Linked DNA regions of Homo sapiens: all the other regions are linked to region 2. The links are contacts of gene promoters, found by promoter capture Hi-C in human tissues and cell types (Jung and others, 2019). All regions are on one chromosome and are shown on one strand. Each heading gives the region's core, a stretch centred on a gene start or on the middle of the fragment in contact. The rest is flanking DNA. Distances are from core to core; before and after follow the strand shown.

The links. The method cuts DNA at HindIII sites, captures the fragments that hold promoters and counts their contacts. A contact is called where the count stands out against the background at its distance.
Region 1: a fragment that was not itself captured here is called in contact with the fragment with the promoter of RPRML in region 2 in 2 of the 25 tissues and cell types used here (dorsolateral prefrontal cortex and mesenchymal stem cells).
Region 3: a fragment that was not itself captured here is called in contact with the fragment with the promoter of RPRML in region 2 in 3 of the 25 tissues and cell types used here (H1 embryonic stem cells, heart right ventricle and stomach).
Region 4: a fragment that was not itself captured here is called in contact with the fragment with the promoter of RPRML in region 2 in 1 of the 25 tissues and cell types used here (spleen).

Annotation. Positions count from the first base shown.
Region 1 is chr17:46,730,215-46,733,194 of GRCh38, reverse strand. The region is part of intron 17 of NSF (N-ethylmaleimide sensitive factor, vesicle fusing ATPase); the gene reads right to left. It also overlaps a transcript of LRRC37A2 not described here. Among named protein-coding and RNA genes, the nearest start is that of WNT3, 87 kb to the left of the region's middle. RefSeq lists an enhancer at 1-586. The HindIII fragment of the contact is 3,561 bases long and covers 1-2,980 here.
Region 2 is chr17:46,977,843-46,980,924 of GRCh38, reverse strand. It overlaps RPRML (reprimo like), which reads left to right and starts at 1,672. Exons shown (of 1, transcript NM_203400.5): 1 at 1,672-2,769. The coding sequence starts at 1,918. The coding sequence ends at 2,280. It also overlaps a transcript of LRRC37A2 not described here. RefSeq lists a silencer at 1,550-1,729 and enhancers at 2,207-2,886, 2,887-3,082. The HindIII fragment of the contact is 12,504 bases long and covers 400-3,082 here.
Region 3 is chr17:47,180,424-47,183,483 of GRCh38, reverse strand. It overlaps CDC27 (cell division cycle 27), which reads left to right. Exons shown (of 19, transcript NM_001256.6): 2 at 1,847-1,922. Among named protein-coding and RNA genes, the nearest start is that of CDC27, 7.3 kb to the left of the region's middle. The HindIII fragment of the contact is 6,447 bases long and covers 1-3,060 here.
Region 4 is chr17:46,840,421-46,843,730 of GRCh38, reverse strand. It overlaps a transcript of LRRC37A2 not described here and a transcript of WNT9B not described here. Among named protein-coding and RNA genes, the nearest start is that of WNT9B, 9.5 kb to the left of the region's middle. The HindIII fragment of the contact is 7,127 bases long and covers 1-3,310 here.

The sequences.
Region 1 (2,980 bases), core at 405-2,904, 250 kb after region 2:
CTTCCATAAATCTGCAAAACTTGAAAAGAGCCCCAGTGTCATCAAGTAAAAGAGACGGCGTTAGGAATCTCACTGGAAGGAGGGGTGTCTTCAAGCCTCTCACTGCTAAGCCGGACATTTCCTAACACTGGACAAATTGTACGTCCAGCTCAGGGAGGGTGAACTGCAGTGGTCTTTTACCCTCCAAGCCAATTGTTAGCTTTTCACAGGAATCAGCAGGGAAGCACATGTGAAACCTCTGTGTGACAGTGAGCACCCCCATGCCTTGTGTGACTCTGCATGTAGATGAAGCAGGCTGGGAGCTTTCTTAGCTGCTGCTGCTGAGTTCTCAGAGAAGCCCTTTTTTCCGGCTTGGCTCCCTGCTGGGACAGCCCTTTTCAATTTTTCTATCCCCTCTCGATCTCTTCTCCTGCAGAACACAGGGAAACTTGATTGAAATAAAGACCTAGGGAACATGTTTTATTTTCTCCTGTTCAATCCATTTTAGAAAAGCTTTTAATTGGTTTTAAAAAGATGCTAAACAAAATGTGATGATGTTTTTCACTCTTCACGAACTGCAGATACCACTTTTTATACTTTCAAAGGGCTAATAAATCAATCATGAAATTAACTCTGCAGCTAAATTTAAAGCAAATCCACTGAATACCAGGTTCATTAAAAATCTATGCATTTACTTAGAAAAATTTAAAATTCAAAGAAAATTATCCTAGTAACTGAAATCTGACTTGAATTTTTAGTTCTACACTGAAAATCCAAGACCAAGGCAATCACAAAGGGAAAAAAGGAGGGCTTGGGAACCAGTTTTAATAAGCCAATTTACAAGAAGGGAGGGGGTGGTGGGGGAGGGGTGGAAGGAGAAAAGAGAATATCTGGATACATAACAACATAGTGCCCCTGAAGGGATTCTTTTATTTGAGCACGTGCACACATGCACACACAATTTTTCTGTGTGAAAGCTGGAAATACAACAAATGCAAAATTGAGGATTCTGTGACTGATATGATTACTGTAGTGTATATAAGTATAGTTCCTCCTTTTAAAGAAAAATGCTCACAACTTTTGTTTTCTTACCAGTAATAAATATTTTTCTATCACTCTATGCATTTCTACAATATTTAGCTGAATATACCTTTAATATTTAATTAAAAACATCTGAAAAAACTATATGCTAATGGTTTGACAAAGTGAATGCTTCCATTTTACAATGACTAATATTCTTAACACTTGGATCAGCCTGAAAATTTCCCCTTATTTTCTTGAGAGAATATAAACATTTTAAAAAGCAAGGTGGTATGACAAAGCACATTTTTATTTTGTTAAATACATGCCAACTAGAAATACTACAAATATTAATTTATCCTGTTACTGATTCATGTATACTGCAGGTAATCTGGCAGTCCAGGTCAGAGTCACCAAATTCAGATTAATGACCAGATGGTATTCCCTTCAGAGAGAACCCCTGCCATTTCCAATCACTAAGGCAACCACATCTCTTACTTCTTACATATTTCTATATTCTTCCTCTTCAGTCCTTAGATAAATTCACTCCATGTTCTTTTTAAATGATCCAATTCCTCTTTCTCCCAAGCTGGGCCACGTACCTTGGATGCTCACCCCTCACTTCTAACTCTATGTCTCCTTTCATCATTTAAGTAGCTCCTAAACCACTTCTAAAAAATGTAATCGCTTGAGATATGGTTCACAGAGCACACAGTTTACCCATTTAAAGTGTACAATTCAGTATTTTAGTATATTCACAGATATACACAACACCACCAAAATCAATTTTAGAGCATTTCTATCACCCCAAAAAGAAACCCCATACCCATTAGCAGTGACCCTCTCACTCTTCTCATTCTCCCCTCCCAGCCCTAGGCCATCCCAAATATATTTTCTGTCTTTATAGATCTGCCAGTCCTGGACATTTCATGTAACTGGAATCATCCAATATGTGGTCTTTTTGACTGGCTCCTTTTGCTTAGCATGTTTTCAAAGTTCATTCATGTTGTAGTATGTAATGGTACTACTTTTTTTTATTGCTGAGTAATATTCCATTATATGGATATACTAGATTTTATCAGATAAATGTTTAGTTATGAATAATGCTGCTATGAATACTCACATACAAGCTTTCATGTGGACATATGTTTTTCATTGCTTGTAGGTGTATACTTGGTGGAATAGCTGGGTTATATGGTAACTCTATGCTTAACCTCTTGAGGAACATTCTTACCAGCAGTGCATACAGGTTCCAATTTCTCCACATCTGCACCAGCGCTTGTCATTACCTGACTTTTTGATGATAGCCATTCTAGCAGGTATGCAATGAGTGGTATCTCACTATTGGTTCTGACTTGCATTTCTCTGATGACTAATGATGTTGAGTACCTCTTCTTATACTTGTTGGCCATTTGAACTTTACTTATTTTTGAATGTTTTCACTCTTATCATATCCTGTCTAAATATAAACTCCAGCAATATGAAAACACTTGAGCCCACTAAAATGAAAAGACACTGAAAAATTTTTTTTTGTTGATAAGGTATTTGTGAAGCATGTACGTATAAGCCTCTATGCCATTGGCTGTGAGATTTAAAAGCATAAGATAATGTTCCTTCCCTCAAAAATCTTACAATAAGTTTTACAACACAGAAACAATTATTCTTAAATCTTAGTGTGGCAGATCATTCGTTAATAGTTTCTGTTTATTTCTGTTAGTATCTACTTTGGATCACAAATGCTTCTCAGCCAAGGGGGTGTACCTCTGTTTAAATCAATGTGTATAGTATTTAACAATGTAAAGAACAAGAAGTATAAGATAGCACTGAAGTTAATCTTCCTTCTCCCAAGTGACTTTTAGCATAAATTATTTTCAGCTAAAAAAGAAGAACTATTTTAAGAGATAAATTTAAATGCCTAGAAAAAGTCTCACATTCTAATAGTTTTTATAATTAATATGCTGACATAAAGTTTTTTTGTGTG
Region 2 (3,082 bases), core at 423-2,922:
TGTACACTGGTATATTTCTGGAAAGCAATTTAGTAGGAAGTACTTTTTGATTCTTTTTTTCTTTTTTTATTTTATTTTATTTTATTTTTTTTGAGACGGAGTCTCGCTCTGTCACCCAGGCTGGAGTGCAGTGGCGTGATCTCGGCTCACTGCAAGCTTCACCTCCCGGGTTCACGCCATTCTCCTGCCTCAGCCTCCTGAGTAGCTGGGACTACAGGCGCCCGCCACCACGCCCGGCTAATTTTTTTTTTTTTTTTTGTATTTTTAGTAGAGACAGGGTTTCACGGTGTTAGCCAGGATGGTCTCGATCTCCTGACCTCGTGATCCACCCGCCTCGGCCTCTCAAAGTGCTGGGATTACAGGCGTGAGCCACCGCGCCCGGCCTACTTTTTGATTCTACAGGTCCATTTTTCAAAATACAATCTAAAGAAAAATCAGTTTTGGCACAAATACTTTGTTACAAGGCTCCTTATGGTAATATTGTTTCTGATGAAAGAAAAAAGAAGACAGAAAGAAAGAAAGAAGAAAGAAGAGAAAGAAAGAAGAGAAAGAAGAAGAGAAAGAAAGAAGAAGGAAGGAAGGAGAGAAGGAAAGGGAGAAGGAAGAAGAAGGAAAGAAAAACTCAGACATCCAGCAGGAAGCTTGGTTAAATAAACTGTAGTAGTCCATACCTTAAAATGCCATTCCTTCACTAAAAATGATGTTGTAGCTCAGTAGTTTGTGCATCACGTGGGAACTGTTAGAAATGCACATTCTGGGGCCCCATCCCACATCTGATTCAGAAACTCTTGGGGTTGGTTGGGGTGGGGAGGTTGGGGGCGGGAGGTGGAAGCAATCTGGGTTTTAATAAACCCTCCAAGGCAATTCAGAGCCATAGCTGTAGAGGACCATCGCTAGGGAAAGTTACGCTGTTAAGTGAGGAAAGGTTGGGAGGCAGTAAGCAGGAACGGTGCATCCCCATATCTGTTATCTAGAGAAAGGCACAAATAGAAAAAGTCTGGGAGGAGTTTATACCCAGGTGATAACATCGACACTCTCTAGGAGGCAGATTATAAAGTTTTAGAGTAATTTCGGTAATTCATGTTTTCTAAACTAGTCTACAATGACTATGTTTGTGTAAAAAAGAAAGAAAAAAACAGTAATTTATTTTTTAATTTAAAAAAAAAGTTAAATGGGACCAAGTTGAGAGGAGGGTGTAGGGAAGGAGGCAGAGAGCCCGCCTCGCCGCGACAGCTTTCACCCCGGGAAAGCTGTGAGGCAGGACCGCCCAGGAGACCCGGGGCCAGTGGAGTGGGCAGCGCCAGGGGTCCCGGCGACTCATCTGATGTCTAGCAAGGCTTACGAGGGCTTAAATAATAAGCGAAGAGAGTCAGGGCAGATTCCGGAATAACTTCACTGCTAAGGGTATCAAATCCTGGAATGGGCACCTTGGAGAGGTTTTCTAGCCAAGAACGGACAGCGGGTGCCAGGAGGGGGTGGAGTTTCGCCGGCCCGCGGACAGAGGCTGCCGGATCTCCCGACCCCCTCCAGCACCGGGACTCCGGGGAGGCTGCGCCCGCGGCGGGATTCCCGCCCCTCGGAGATGCCGCGGGGACCGGCGGGGCGGGGCCGGGCCGTTGCTAGGGGAGGGGCGGCCAGGCGCGCGAGGAACCCAGCGGGCGACCGCTAAGCACACTAGGTTCTCCGGCTCCAGCTCCTGCGCCGCCTGTTGCTCGCTCCTCCGGGCGGTCGCTTCCCGCCCGGTGCCCAGGGGTAGGCGGCCCGAGAGCGCGCAGGCAGCCAGCCTCCCGCCTTCGTCCCCTCCCCGTACCGCAGGAGCCGGTCCGAGGGGTCCGGAGCGTCCCTGAGAGCGCGGACCCCGGCGAGCAGCCCAGTGCACCCGGGACTGCGCGCCGAGACCCCCGGCGCCGCGCGGCGATGAACGCGACCTTCCTGAACCACAGCGGCTTGGAGGAGGTGGACGGCGTGGGCGGCGGCGCCGGGGCCGCCCTGGGAAACCGCACCCACGGGCTGGGCACGTGGCTGGGCTGCTGTCCAGGGGGCGCACCGCTGGCCGCCAGCGACGGGGTCCCCGCGGGGCTGGCGCCCGACGAGCGCAGCCTGTGGGTGTCGCGGGTGGCGCAGATCGCCGTGCTCTGCGTGCTGTCGCTTACCGTGGTCTTCGGCGTCTTCTTCCTGGGCTGCAACCTGCTCATCAAGTCCGAGAGCATGATCAACTTTCTGGTGCAGGAGCGCCGGCCCTCCAAGGACGTGGGCGCAGCCATCCTGGGGCTGTACTGAGCGCCATCTGGGTCCGCCCTCGCCAGCGCTGCTGCAAGAAGGACCCCGGAGACCCGGACCCTCGCCCCGCTCTCTGCGCTCTGCCGCCGCCTCCGGGCGGGCAGCTACGTGCCTGGGGCGCCCGGGCGGGGACGCGGCGAGACTGTCGGCGGGGGCGCGGGAAGGGACTTGGACGCCCGGCTCTGTCCTGTGTGCGCTGCAGCGTTGCGGGGTGGGAGAATGTGGGGTGAGGGTTCTTACCAGTTTTTTTTGTTTGTTTGTTTTTTAAGACGTTCGGGGCAGGGTGGGAGTGGGTATGGAGATGCAATTTGGGACTGCGGTCGCTCGCGTGGGAGTTTTGTGTGTACGTTGGTGCGGGTGGGTTCGGAACACGGTGCGAGTGGGTGAAGATGTGAAGCGTCAGAGTCGCTGAGCTTGTTGGCCTGATCTTGCGTTTGGAAAGAAATCTTGTAATAAAACTGCAGCCGTAGGGCTTCAGGCAGCTTCCCACCCGCGCCTGTGAGGTGTGTGTGTGTGTTGCGGGGCGGAGGGCATGTACCCTCCTGGCGGACACTTTGAGCCCCGTGGGAGACATCTAGCCCCTGCGTGGACGCCTGGCTGGGGAGCCCACAGGTCAGGTCAAGGATCCTGGGGCTCCACGCGGAGGCCAGAGCGAGGAAAGGCAAAGGGAATCGTTTTCTAACGCCAACAGCGGAGAAGGCAGGTCCTGTGGGACAGCCAGACAGCTGGTGAGATTAATTAAATCACTGGATATATGAGTCTAATATGAGATGAAACAAAATCAGTCAGCTGTGTCCAAAAC
Region 3 (3,060 bases), core at 392-2,891, 200 kb before region 2:
CCAAACTAAGTTCATTACTGTTCTTTCTTGAGGAAATAGAAAGGGCTAAGTCATTTACTACTTTTATTTTTAAAATTATAATTAATATACTCATTGCAGAATTATTAAACATTTACTTGTTTGTTCAACAAAATTTGTTGAGCCTTTACTGTATCTAAGGCATATTAATCACTTAATATAATTTAGATGTACTGGTACAATGTTAGCTAGTGATCAGTAACCAGATTTTACTGGTTTCCGTTGTAACCTTTTTAAATCATTCAACAAATTATAAGCTGGTGTATGTGCTAAAAATAAAAAATAACGCTTGTATCATGATCAGGTGTGAGATATCTCAAAAGTAGTTTATTACTAAAAATGATTTGACATTACCTAGTAAAGATGAACATATGCATATTCAACAACCCAGTAATTTTATTCCTAAATATATATCCTAATTTGGAGAGATTCTTTTTTGTGTTTTTTTGATGGGAGTCTTGCTCCTATTGCACTCCAGCAGCTATTCACAGGTATGATCATAGCCTTGAACTCCTGGACTCAAGCAGTCTTCCCAGCTCAGCCTTCTGAGTCGCTGGGACTAAAGGCTCACACCACCGTGATAGGCTGGAGAGATTCTTAAATATATACCCCAGGAGATGAATCTAAGACTGTTGCAGCATTGTTATAATTGGAAAAACAAAACAAAACAAAAAAACACCCTAGAAATAACCCAAATGTCCACATGCTGTAAAATAGATAAAATACATTTTGGATTTTGATATGTTTATACAATGGAAATATTATTTATTCAGCAATGAAAACAAATGAACTCTAGCTACACACATCAAGAATGAATTTTCAAAACATTGGATTTCAAAAGCAAATCGTAGCAGAATGTATACAATATGATTGTATTTATTTAAAGTTCAAAAACAGGAAAAAGTAAATGTTATACTGCTTAGAGATGATATGTACAAATGTATAAAATTGTGAAGAAAACCAAGAGAAAGGTCAAGAAAATTCAGTGTGGTGGTTTCCTCTTTGGGGCAGGGAGAGGTTTTGGTATCAACAAGGAACACACAGGGAGTTTCAGAGATATTTTATTTCTTAAGCTGGGTGGTGAGTACATGGGCCTAAATGTCTTTGGTTATTGTTACTTAAAATGTCCTTCTATCTCATATATACTTTAGGTTATATGTTTTGTAATTCTAAAAGAGAAAACATATATTCAAAAAATTAAAAGTTATTCCTATGATAACTTTACTCATTTGCATTCCAATATGCTTCCTGGAGTGGATGAGAATTGAGTGGCATTAAAGGTAATAGATAGGGAAGTTTTTGTGGGAGGATGACATACATTTTAATATCTCTGTCATGTATATCACATAAAGTGGTTGAGAACCACTGCTGCTAAAAGTCTGTAGTTTAGTAGGGTTGGCAGTCCTGTTAACAAATAACCATGTTATGAGTGCTCTACTAGAAGAGGTATCTTAAAAAAGAAATGGCTTGACATCAGCCAGGAAAGCTTTATGGGGCAGATGTTATTTAAGCTGGATCTTTAGGGACGAGCAGTTTATAAGGGGAGACTGGTGAGGGGAGCCCACATTGCCCAATGGAGGAAAAGGGTGTACAAAGGCACAGAAGCCTAAAAGTCCATAGAGAGTTGAGTGAGGAAATTCAGATATGTTAGGAGCCATACTGTGAAGAGCCTTGCCCGGCACACTCTGGAGTTTGCTCTGTGGGCATTGGGGTTTTATCACTTAAATTAGGGATATTAATTTCAGTATTTGATGTAAGGCTGTGTGCTAGTAGTTACCTTGAAAGTCTGTATGTATGTATATTTATGTTCTTTTTCCTCCATTTGCAGGCTGCTATATGGCAAGCACTAAACCACTATGCTTACCGAGATGCGGTTTTCCTCGCAGAACGCCTTTATGCAGAAGGTTTGAAATCTATTCATTGCTGTAGAATGATAAATGAATAACATATATGAAATTCCATAACTTTTTATCACTGTAACAAGATTCTAGCTATCATCATCTTGTTGTTTTTCTGATTGACACTAGTTCATAAAATCTTTACTTTTTTTCTGTGTAGTTCCCTTACATACTACTTTTAATAACTATGTAGAATTGATTCAGGTTTATATGCTATGATTTACTTAATCATTTTTCAATCTTTAGGTTTTTTTTTCCCCCAGGGTTTTTGTTGTTTTGGGTTTTTTTTTTTTTTTTTTTTTTTTTTTTTTTTGAAACAGGGTCTCACTCTGTCACCCATGTTGGAGTACAGTGGGACCATCTCAGCTCACTGCAACCTCTACCTCCCAGGCTCAAGCGATCCTCCCACATCAGCCTCCCAAGTAGCTGGGACCGCAGGCACGGACCACCACGCCTGGCTAATTTTTTTTTTTTTTTTGGTAGAGATAGGGTTTTGCTATGTTGCCCAGGCTGGTCTCAAATTCCTGAGCTTAGGTGATCCACCTGCCTTGGCCTCCCAAAGTGCTGGGATTATACTCATGGGCCACCATGCCATGTATTTTTTTTTTTTTTTTTTTTTTTTAAGAAAAGAGTCTGTATTCTATGGTGAAGAACATGGATTTAGACTCTATAGCCTTGGAACAAATCCTAACCTGTCACTTAAATGTACAGTTTTATAACCTTGGACGAGTTACTTTAATATCTGAAAATTCAGATATTTCATCTATAAAATAATCATTGCCCCTTAGAATTAAAAATTCAATGAGATGGTTTATTTAAAGCCCTTAGCACAGCCATCTGGCTTGGTAATCAATGCTTAATAAACACCACTGATAATGTATGTTTTGTTTCTGTCATTATTATAATTCCCTTTCTAAGATGCTGATATAGATCATTGTGTACAGCTTTTTTTTTTTTTTGAGTCATTTCCTTGGGTTATGTACTTTTAAATGGAATTTACAAGTCAAACAGTATGGGTTTAGTAGCTGAGAGTTGTGAGAACAAGGCCTAAACCTCAGGGGCAGGAAATTTCACAAAAGGACAAAGAGCAATGCTTGGAAGTAGTTTTGAGAAGTTAAGTGGAAACCAGCCTTACCTTGACTCT
Region 4 (3,310 bases), core at 256-2,755, 140 kb after region 2:
AAAACTGTTAACCCATTTAATGCTCACAGCATTTTACAAATGAGGAAATGGGCACAGAGAAGTCAAGTAACTGGCCAGCTAGTAAGCTTAGAACCGGGATTAGAACCCAGGGAGCTGGCACCAAAGACACATATTTAACGACTGTGCAGCAGTAAAGAGAAGAAAGTACCAAATGAGGCAGGAACCCAGGAAAGAAGACAATCAATTCATTGTTCCAGGGAAGAGGTAGCTAAGACAATGGCAACTGAGATGCAGCAATGTTTGAGCTGGATTTTGCAGAGTGATTTTTTTTTTCAGTCCTTCTTTCTTCACTTTAACGAATGGAATAGTCCCTCCTAATTAGTCACACAAACGTTTGAAAGGAAACCAAGTTTTCCCACTGGTTGTCATTATAATTATAAGGGTTCACCCTACAAAGCATACCTTTGCTACATTAAGTTCTACTTTGGAGTGAGAGGAGGTTGAAAAAGTGTTGGGGACTTAAGAATAGGGAATGTGTTTTAAACTAGTTAAGCCTTTCCAATCTGTTGTTGATTCTGAAATATCATTTTCATTCCCCCAGCTCCGATATTAATATCTACCCTAGTTTCTCCCTCTCTGGGCTTGGCACCCAGGATGTGCCCACCTTCTTCCTCATGAGGTGCCTTCAGTGTCTAATGTGGCCTGGTTGCAATACCACATGTCTCCAATAGGAGTCACTAGCAACAACAGGATAATTTACCTGAGGTTGCATGGAGAGAACCCTGGGTCCTAACTTAAAATCTTGTCTCTGGCTTCCTCTGCGACCTCGGTTTCTTCATCCATAAAATGGATACAACACTCCCTGTCCACCTTCCTCACAGAACAGTGGTGAGAAATGTGAAGATGAATGTGGACATCTTCCAGTGTGATTCAGAAGAGGTGCACTGTCTGATTTTCTCATAGCTTCTGTCTGGATGGTTTCAAAAAACTAATCATTCCACAGCTACGTTTTGAGCATCACTCATCATGCCAGGCACTCTGTAGGATCCAGGAATTATTTCTATCTTTGCACAAAAGGACTTTGAATAAAAGTTTAAAGCAGGGTACGGTGGCTCATGCCTGTAATCCCAGCACTTTGGGAGACTGAGATGGGAGGATCACTTGAGCCCAGGAGTTCGAGACCAGCTCTGGGCACCAAAGCAAGATCCCATCTCTACAAAAAAAATTAATAGCTGGGCATGGTGGTATGCACCTGTGGTTCGAGCTACTCGGGAGGCTGAGGCAGGAGGATGGTTTGAACCCAGGAGTTTGAGGCTGCAGTGAGCCGTGATCGCGCCACTGCACTCCAGCCTGGGCGACAGAGGGAGACCCTGTCTGAAAAAACAACCAAATAAATAAAGATTTAAAGCTAACTGTAACCCTGAGGTTGTAGAGCAGCAGCCCCTGCCCTAGGAATGATATTGGGGTGTGCAGCAGCGGCATATCTACCTCACCTGTGGCTGGAAGGCTCTCCTGACCAATAACTCATCTCTTCCTCACACAACCCAGTTTGCGCCTGAAGAAACTGAGGCACAGAGAGGCGAAGTGGCCTGCCCAAGGACCTAAATACCAGCAACTTCCCAAGCCTTTAATCCCAGAGCATAGAGTGGGAAGGGGCGGTGTGAGAAGGCAAGTGGTGGGAGAGGACCTGGAGGGATGGAGGGGGAGGCCTCCCGGGTCCCCAGGCCAGCCCAGGCCCCGCCGAGGGCGCCACCGCGGCCAGCCTTCTGCAGGAGCGCCCCCTGCCGGTCAGCGCTGCTCGCGGCGGCCGCGGACGCTGGAGGACGCTCGGCGCGGCAGGGACTGTCCTCTCGCGGACCAGAGACCCCCCCACACACCGCAGAGGAGCGCAAGAAGGGCCCTGCGGGGTCGGCCTACCCCTTCACTTTGCACACGGCAAACGCGGAGCTCAGAGGAGGACGTGGTTGCTCAAGGTCTCTCAGCTGGATGCAGGCTTCCCTGTCCGCCTGCCTCACACTGCAGAACCTCCATCTCCTCTGCCTTCATCTACCCCGCACTCCCCAGTCCAGAGGGTCCAGTTCCTCCCGGTCCTGCTCCCGGCCAGCCCCTACCCGCCCCACCAGCCCCTTCTCCTCAAGGAATCCTCTGGCATTGCAGCCCCCAGCGCTCCCTTCTCCGAAGCCCTGTTGCGTCAGGGCGTCCCCACGCCCCCACCTTAACCCGCTCTCAATTTGGGACATGGCTTAGTTGGCCTGTTGGCACGACCTTGAGGACCAGGGACGGGCCTCTTTCTTTCGGATTCTCCACCCTCCCGCCCAGAGGTGCCTGGGACAGGGCTGAACTCTCACTCTCACTCGGTGATGAATATCGATGCATGACTTTCCTTCTTCCCACCGGGAAGCCTCACAGCAGTGTCTCTGATCCAGGACCGCCAGGATACCTAGGCTGGCCTTCTGGCTTTCCTTCCTAGCTGGGTGACCGTGGGCAAGTCCCTTACAATCTCTCAGAGCCTCCGTTTCTCCGACTGTAAATAGGGAGAAAGCTGCTCTTTGGGCTGGTTGTGAAGATTAAATGAAATCATGCGTGTCATGTTCCTGTCACATAGTAGGTGCTCAATAAATGGTAAATTTGATTTGTCAGGCTTCCAAGGAGCCTTGTCTGTCGGCACCCTCTTTCCTAGGGATAAGCCTTCCAACCTGAATTCTCCCACCCTCTGCCTCCTGTTGGAAGTAGCATCGGGAAAGGCGTTCCATGGTGATGACACAGGGGCACAGGAAAGGAGAATGCAGTTGGAAACAGAACCGGCTGCTTTCTGCCTCCACTTCTACTCACACCTACTTCCTGCTGCTTAGAATTTACAGCCTGCAAAGGGCTAATATCCAGAATCTACAAAGAACTTAAACAAATTTACAAGAAAAAACAACCCCATCAAAAAATGGGCAAAGGATATGAACAGACACTTCTCAAAAGAAGACATTTATGCAGCCAACAGACACATGAAAAAATGCTCATCATCACTGGTCATCAGAGAAATGCAAATCAAAACCACAATGAGATACCATCTCACGCCAGTTAGAATGGCGACCATTAAAAAGTCAGGAAACAACAGATGCAGGAAAGGATGTGGAGAAACAGGAACACTTTTACACTGTTGGTGGGAGTGTAAATTAGTTCAATTAGACAGTATGGCAATTCCTCAAGGATCTAGAACTAGCAATATCATTTGACCCAGGGATCCCATTACTGGGTATGTACACAAAGGATTATAAATCATGCTACTATAAAGACACATGCACACATATGTTTATTGTGGTGCTATTCACAATAGCAAAGACTTGGAACCAACCCA